Regions from separate parts of the Homo sapiens genome. Here region 1 is linked to region 2. Evidence: promoter capture Hi-C in human tissues and cell types (Jung and others, 2019). All regions are on one chromosome and are shown on one strand. Each heading gives the region's core, a stretch centred on a gene start or on the middle of the fragment in contact. The rest is flanking DNA. Distances are from core to core; before and after follow the strand shown. Region 1 has its middle 18 kb from the start of MMP12. Region 2 holds the start of MMP3 (matrix metallopeptidase 3).

Region 1 (4,189 bases), core at 1,579-4,078, 50 kb after region 2:
AGAGATATGGGTCAAGGATGTTTCTGGAGTGGGAACTGCAGAGGAATGCAGGAGCCCAGATTCTGCTAAGGAGTTCCAATTCAGTCTTGACAGCACTGGGAACCACTGAAGAATTTAAGTAGAGGCAAGGCATGGTCATATTTGCGTTTAGAAACGTCATTCTGGTCACCTTGCGGAGACTGTGTAAGATACAGTCAGAACCCAATTTATCAAGGTCAAATTTCTTCACTTGTCAAAGTCCTTACCATCTGCCCCCTTCCTCCTTTTCTTGCCTCTTCTCCCACAGTTCCCTGCAACCAACACTGCCAGCCTTCTATTCCTATCCCTCTGACTTTGCTGCTGTAGTTACTTCTTCCTGACAAAGAATTTTTCTTCCTCTGTACCCCTTGATCTCTCCAGATCTTAACCTCCCTCCACCTCTCAGATACTCCCAGCCACAGTCCCATCTCCCAGCCACAGTCCCATCTCCCTGCTTTTCATGCTCCTAGGAATTGTGACTTTGCTTTATATCTGCCTGTGGTCCCAGCTATCACCACACACCTACAAAAAGCAAAACTCAAGATGTGCTGTTTCAAATGATAGTGACTTAAAATTATGATCCAGGCAGGGTTTTAATACCTTAATACCTGCCCTGAGATGGATGTATCCCCAAGTGGTGGATGTGGGTTGGATTGTGTAATTTCCTGTGGGCAAAGCTTCTTTTTCACCTAGATAAACTCTGAAGCTCTCTTCCTGGAGTTCCATTTTATTAGCTTACACAAGTGTACTCCCTGTTTTTAAAAAAATTATAGTTTTACATTTTATTTTTTATAGAAGTGGAGTCTCACTATATTGCCCAGGCTGATCTCAAACTTCTGGGCTCAAGCGATCCTCCAGTCTTAGGCTCCCAAAGGGATTTGGGATTACAGGTGCAAGTTACTATGCCTGGCCTGTACTCCCTTTTAAAGGTTGATTTTTTGATGTAAAAGAAAGCTTTACCATTTATTTTTACTTCAATATGAAACCTTCTCATGTGCTTTTTCTTTTTGGTGTTTGAAAGCAACCTAGCTAGAGAACAATGATAATGTGGGGCTGAGAGGAAACATCAGAAATCTGAGGTTGGAGAGGAAATGTACATGATAGGAATGGAAGCCACCAAGTCAGAAGACAAGCTTCCCAAACTTCTTCATGGTATAGGGCAGTAGTAGAGCTCAGGTTCTAGAGCACTGTTTCTCAAAGTGTGGTCCCAGACCAGCAGCATCAGCCTTTCCTAGGAATTTGTTAGGAATGCAAAATGTTGGTTTCTTTCCCAGACTTCTTGAATCAGAAACTCTAGAGGTGGAGTCCAGCAATGGCAGTTTGGGGACCACTGCTCTAGCATTTAAAGGAAGGATCTACAGAGGATTTGCGCTACAGCCTGCCTTTAGTTTTTTTTCCCTTTTTCCCTCTTTCCCTGCTCCTAGGCAACAAAGATAAAAATATAGTAAAAACTAGGTGCTTCTCTGAATGGCTGGATTTGAAGAAGTTCTATTTTAAAACTGCATTTAAAAAAAAGGGCCAGGTGGTTCACACCTGTAATCCTAACACTTTGGGAGGCCGAGGCTGGTGGATCACTTGAGCCCAGGAGTTTGAGACCACCCTTAACAACATAGTGAAACCCCATCTCTACAAAAAGCTGAGTGTGGTGGCATGTTCCTGTAGTCCCAGCTACTCAGGAGGCTGAGGTGGGGGAATCACTTGAGCCCAGGAGGTGGAGGTTGTAGTGAGCTGAGATTATGCCACTGCACTCCAGCCTGGGTAATAGAGTGAGACACCACCTCAAAAAAAAAAAAAAAAAAAAAAAACACCAACAAAAAAAACTCATTGATTACCTGCAGGGCACCAGCCACTGTCTGAGGCACAGTAAACAGAAAGAGAGTAACTATCCCTGCACTAGAGGAGGCCTGCTCAAGGCAGTATGTGTGTGTGTGTGTTTGTATCCGTGTTGGGATGGGGATGAAGTGGAAAGTGGGAAAGGCTTTTTGGAAATGATGAATCCCAAATTGCGTTTTGAAAAGTCGATTGGAGCACGAGGTCAAAGGTAGGAAGATGCACTTTAGCCAAAGGACCAGTTGTAGAAATGCTCAGTAATTCCCTTGTGAATATTTTGATCCAGAAAGATATACTAGAGCATTGCAGAAACGCAGCTGCCCAGGAGTTTGGTTTTTACTGCCTGACTTCACTTTGATTTCATGGCTTGGATGAAAAAGAGACATCTACTTCCTAGTTTCTCTCTATCTTAAAGTTCAATATTGAATCCAACTCTATTTTCTGGCTGTCTTTCAAGGATTTTCCTGAGTCTTCTGTTCCCACTGTTTCTGCCTAGATCTTCCACATACTAGAAGCACCAATCTCCTCCAACCATCTACAGCTCCCTGTGACCAAGATCATCGTGGGCAAAACTGATTCTTCTAATCAACATTTATCACACTTGCTTTTCACCAATGAACTTGGTCTTTAGAGCATTTACAAACAAGTATGAGGTGCCTTCCCTCAGAAAACTCACAACCCAATTAAAGACACAAGACCTAGATATAAAAAATAACAATTTAGACTGCAAATGACTTAGTAAAGAATTATATGAACTGTAAACCCCATAGAAGGACATGGCTTGACAAGTTATGGGCCACAGACCAAATCCAGCCTGCAAGCTAAAAATGGCCCTTCCTTCCACTTTTATTTTATTTTATTGTTGTTGGTTTTTTTTTTTTTAAGACAAGGTCTCACCATATTGCCTAAGCTGGTCTCAAACTATTGGGCTCAAGTGATCTTCATGCCTCAGTTTCTTGAGTACTGGGATGACAGCACATGTCACTGACCCAGGTTCCATTTTTAAATGGTTGAAAAATGAAATAAAAGTAATACACAGAGACACATGAAAACTATATGAAATTCAAATATCAGTATCTACAAATAAAATTTTATTGAAACACAGTCATATGCATTCAATTATATATCATCTATGGCTGCTTTCTTTCTCCAAAGGCAGAGTTGATTTTTTTTCTTTTTTTGAGACAGAGTCTCACTGTGTGATATGGTTTAGCTGTGTCCCCACCCAAATCTCATCTTGAATTGTAACTCTAACAATTCCTATGTGTCATGGGAGGAACCCGGTGGGAGGTGATTGAATTATGGGGGTGAGTCTTTCCTGCACTGGTCTCCTGATAGTGAATGTGTCTCACAAGATCTGATGGTTTTAAAAAGGGGAGTTTCCCTGCACAAGTTCTTCTTCTTTTGTCTGCTGCCATATGAGACGTGCCTTTCACCTTCCACCATATTTATGAGGTCTCCCCAGCCAAGTGGAACTATAAGTCCACGTCTTTATCAGCAGTGGGAAAATTGACTAATATACTCTGTTGCCTCAGCTGGAGTGCAGTGGCATGATCTTGGTCACTGCAGCCTCCACCTCCAAGTTCAAGAGATTCTCCTGCCTCAGCCTCCTGAGTAGCTGGGACTACAGGTGCACGCCACCACACCTGGCTAATCTGTGTATTTTTTTTTAGTAGAGTGGGGGTTTCACTATGTTGGCGAGGCTGGTCTTGAACTCCTGATCTCAAGTGATCCTCTCGCCTCGGCCTCCCAAAGCACTGGGATTACAGGTGTGAGCCATCACACCCAGCCCCCAGTGGCAGAGTTGAGTAGTTGCAACAAAGACCATATAGCCTATTTTCCAAACTGTGATGCTCTGCTTCCCTTTTAAACATAAGTTCCAATTACAAATCTATCTTTGTAAATACATAAAACTGAATGCTTTTAACAGCACCCATCCCCTCTTGAATGCTTGCCTGCTTAGAAATTTCTTCTACCAGATGCCCTAAATCATCTCCTTCAAGTTCAAAGTTCCACAAATCTCCAGAGCTGGGACAAAATGTTCCCATTCTCTTGGCTAAAACATAGCAAGAGTCACCTTTATTCCAGTTCCCACATGTTCCTCACCTCCGTCTGAGACCACCTCAACCTGGACTTCATTATCCATATCACTATCAGCATTTTGGTCAAAGCCATTGAACAAGTCTCTGGAAAATTCCAAACTTTCCCACATCTTTCTGTCCTCTTCTGAGCCCTCCAAACTATTCCAATCTCTGCCTGTTACCCAATTCCAAAGTTGCTTCCAGATTTTCAGGTATCTTTACAGCAGCACCTTACTCTACCAGTACCAATTTACTATATT
Region 2 (4,126 bases), core at 1,515-4,014:
ACCCACCCCCAGCCTCACAAGCATATTAACTCCAGAAGAACCAGATCCCTTTTCTTGTACTCAGGAATGGAATGAACCCACTTGCTTAGCATATCAGATATTTACCTTCATTTGTCAATGCAAAGCTAAACACTGTTTTAATATATTTACATTTGCCATTTGCAGTCTCAGTTAAAGGAAACTATATTCATGTTAATTGATAATGTCTCAGCCTCATCATCATGAAGTACATATTGAGACTAAAAACATGAATAATGATAGATGTCATAGGATTTGCAAAATTGGTTTAAAACACAGTATGCCCAATCATGTCTAGCATTTGTCACACAACAGATTTAGAATACATAAACACTGGCTTTATTCAAAATTTTTTCCTTCATATTTTTAAAAACACCCATAATGCTAAAATTGGGAGGCATTGGGTAATTATGATCAATATAGTAAGTAAATCTACCTTACTTTTGCTAGTATTACTTGTGTAACTTGTGATGCTAGGAACAATCTCATTTGAGAGTTTGCAGGAAGGTTTCTTTACAAGAATTCGTTAACTCAACCAATCAAGAATTCTATCCAGGACTAAACTCACATTTGTACGTCCTACAGAGGTTTACATTTTCATTATAAATCCCAGTTAAACCTCAGACATAGTATTAATTGTTTTCCTATTTTTTTAGAAGTAGTGTTAATTGTTTTAGCTGATTTTTTTGAAAACTTTGGATGTCATTCCCCAAAACATACAGTTATGAACTGAGAAACATTCTTCTACCTAAACAGTTTGAACGTTGTATTTGGGAGTTAGTCTTTTCCTTCAGAACAAGCCCATAAAAATTCTTTTAACCTAAAAGTACTAAAATAATGCCTCAGCCAGAAAAAAAAAAAAAAGAGAATCTCAGTTTCTGAAATTTAATTCTTATTTCTGGTTTGAAGAGTAAAGAAGTAAATGGAGGAAATTACATAAGTAACATCCAGAGCACATTTTAATGTAGATTCAGTGCAATATACTATCCCTTGAATGTTTGTATTTTGATATGAGAAATTTTTCTTAATAATGGTTACCCCTAGATCACAAAGATCCAGTCATTAAAGAAATACTTAATGATATTTCCTATATTGTGCTTACCAATATAGGAAAACTGTTAAAGCATCTGAAAATATTTTCAATAATAATTAAAACAAAAATATATTCTGCTGATCTCTGATCCACTGGAAAATCCAGAACATCTCATTTCTTGAGCATTCTTGGTTATTAACAGATTTCTACATATAAAAAAATTAATGCCAAAATCATTCTGAGAGATGTGTAACTAACCTGTTGTATCCTTTGTCCATTGTTCATCATCATCAAAGTGGGCATCTCCATTAATCCCTGGCCCAGGGGCATAGGCATGGGCCAAAACATTTCCAGGTCCATCAAAAGGGTAAAAGTCTCCATGTTCTAGTAGGAAAAAAATTTATTGGAAAGATATGTAACAAGGATCCCTTTTGAGCCTTTTCCAGTACAACAACACCAGATAGATGAATGGATACATTTCATGTGTTTTTTGTTTTGTTTTGTTTTGCTTTTTTTTTTTTTTTTTTTTTTTTACCTCTAACTGCAAAAGAGATCATTATATCAGCCTCTCCTTCATACAGCCTGGAGAATGTGAGTGGAGTCACCTCTTCCCAGACTTTCAGAGCTTTCTCAACAGCAGAATCAACAGCATCTTTTGGCAAATCTGGTGTATAATTCACAATCCTGTAGGAGAAAAATTGAAGCAGATGCTATTTTCTCCTATGATATAGTTTATAAAATTCCAATCTTATGTGAAAACCCCTCTGAACCATTACCTGTATGTAAGGTGGGTTTTCCTCCACTTCGGGATGCCAGGAAAGGTTCTGAAGTGACCAACATCAGGAACTCCACACCTGGGCTTGCGCATCACCTCCAGAGTGTCGGAGTCCAGCTTCCCCGTCACCTCCAATCCAAGGAACTTCTGCATTTCTCGGATTTTTTTAACAACAGGACCACTGTCCTTTCTCCTAACAAACTGTTTCACATCTTTTTTGAGGTCGTAGTAGTTTTCTAGATATTTCTAACAGAATAAGTATAGTTTTTAGGTCACTCTTACAATTTTTACTATAGCTATCTATTTATAGTAAGTTTTTGCAGTTGCTCACTTCTTAATCTATTTGGAGTATTTCTCTAGCTTGCTGAAATAATGGCAAATTTTATAATATGATACTAGCAACACAAATATTTAGCTAAAATTACGTTGCATTAAAAAAAAAACTGAAGCTGTTCCAAAGCAAGATATGGTTCATCCACTCTCCACTTGTTACTCATGTGCCTTAAGCCCCAGTGCTGCTACTGCTATGGTGTTGTGTGATCTTAAGAAAACACCTAATATTTCTGGCCTTTGTTTCTTCCTACATAAGAGGAGAAGCCCAAATGGTGTGATAATGAGACCTTTTCCACTTCCAACACTCTATAACTCTCTATTCTTGAACTGTTCCTACACAGTAAGCTCAAGCATTCTATGTGGGTTTTAAGACACACAGAATGGTTTCAGCTTACTCTGGAAGCTCCCCACCTGGCCAGGTCAGTTAGTGTTAATTACCTGAACAAGGTTCATGCTGGTGTCCTCACCCCTTGCAGCTCCATCCAATGGATAGGCTGAGCAAACTGCCACGCACAGCAACAGTAGGATTGGAAGACTCTTCATTTCCACTGGCTTTACTTAGCTCTATGTTGTCTCTATGCCTTGCTGTCTTGCCTGCCTCCTTGTAGGTCCAACCTCGGGAGCGCAGCTTTTAAAGAGTGACAGTGTTTGTTTGGATCACCCGCAGCTTGACTCATCCTTGCTTTCATCCAAATGGCAGCAGGACCATTTCCAAACATTCCAAATTCAAAGTAGGATGATACAACCTACTTTACTAATTTCTCTCAACCTTCCCAATTTTGCAAGGCAACACAGTGATTAATCTCCAGGAAGTGCTTCCTGTCTTGGTAGAGGAGAAAACTGGAGCATTTTTTTTCTTCTGGAAAAATTGACTGGAATTCACTAGACAATTTATGTTTGTCCTTTTGAGAGAAGAAGTAGGTTGACTTGGTAAAAATCAGAATTGTGCAGAACTTCTAAAAGCAGTTTTATTTTAAGAAACACATTATAAAAGCAAATAAAAGATGTAAGTGGAAAGTGTACATACATAGCTATAGTCTATACTATATACAATTATACTCAAAACATAAAAGATAATATCTAGAAGAAATTTAGAAGGGGTGATTTATTTTTCTGAATCTGATTTGTAATGCCTGCTATTGACTGTCGTTGGATTTGCTGGTTCTTGAGGAGGAAAACCTCATGGGCAGAATAGAACAAAGAGGGTCTGTGAAAAAGAAGGAAGTATATTCCCTTTGGGTTGGTTTTAATTCTGTAACCAATTTATTAATGGGTGATGGGCCCACGTAGCTGCTCCATAAATAGTTGTAGAATTGAAATGAATTACATTGCTTACCGGACTGAAATTCTCTCTGTCCTTGTCTTCTACACATGTCTTATTCTCTTTCAACCTTTTCCCCTCCTCCCTAAATTCAAATTAGCAGATGCTTTGAAGTTGAAGAACAGAATCCATCCTAAATTTTCTCTTCATGCTCTTCTGTTTTCTTCCTTTCCTTTCTTTTCTGTTTCTTTGTCAAGTAAAGTGTTGCTCACATTATTGGTGTATAATAAATGCTTGAATGCAAGACTCTAAACATATTCAGAGGAAGACATTTTGTAAAACTTTTATAGTCCTCTTGCCACCTGCCACCATCCATCTCCTCAATGCTTCCCTGATCACCACATTTTGTTTGTTCTTTCTTTCTTTGCTGACTTGCTTATTTGTTTGCTAAAGGGAAGAACATCTTGGGAGTAAGAACTCAGTAGAATGATGGATACAAATGTGCATTTATTAGACCTTTAATAAGTGCCCATTTTGCTTCCTCTCATTTATAACTCTTTTGCATTTTCTTCTTTGCTTTATTTTTTGTGTGTTTCTTAATAAACATTGGAGAGATTTTACCCAATAAGTTTAAAGGGATTTCTCTGTGGCAATAAGATCCCTATGACTGAAGATGCCCACACAGTTGATAGCCACTTGGCAGGGG

What was found. Contacts are between HindIII fragments. The study calls those that stand out against the background at their distance.
Region 1: a fragment that was not itself captured here is called in contact with the fragment with the promoter of MMP3 in region 2 in 1 of the 25 tissues and cell types used here (pancreas).

Annotation. Positions count from the first base shown.
Region 1 is chr11:102,890,643-102,894,831 of GRCh38, forward strand. No RefSeq gene overlaps it. Among named protein-coding and RNA genes, the nearest start is that of MMP12, 18 kb to the left of the region's middle. The HindIII fragment of the contact is 3,990 bases long and covers 834-4,189 here.
Region 2 is chr11:102,840,845-102,844,970 of GRCh38, forward strand. MMP3 (matrix metallopeptidase 3) reads right to left here and starts at 2,765. Exons shown (of 10, transcript NM_002422.5): 1 at 2,598-2,765; 2 at 1,828-2,072; 3 at 1,587-1,735; 4 at 1,310-1,435. The coding sequence starts at 2,702. The HindIII fragment of the contact is 10,071 bases long and covers 1-4,126 here.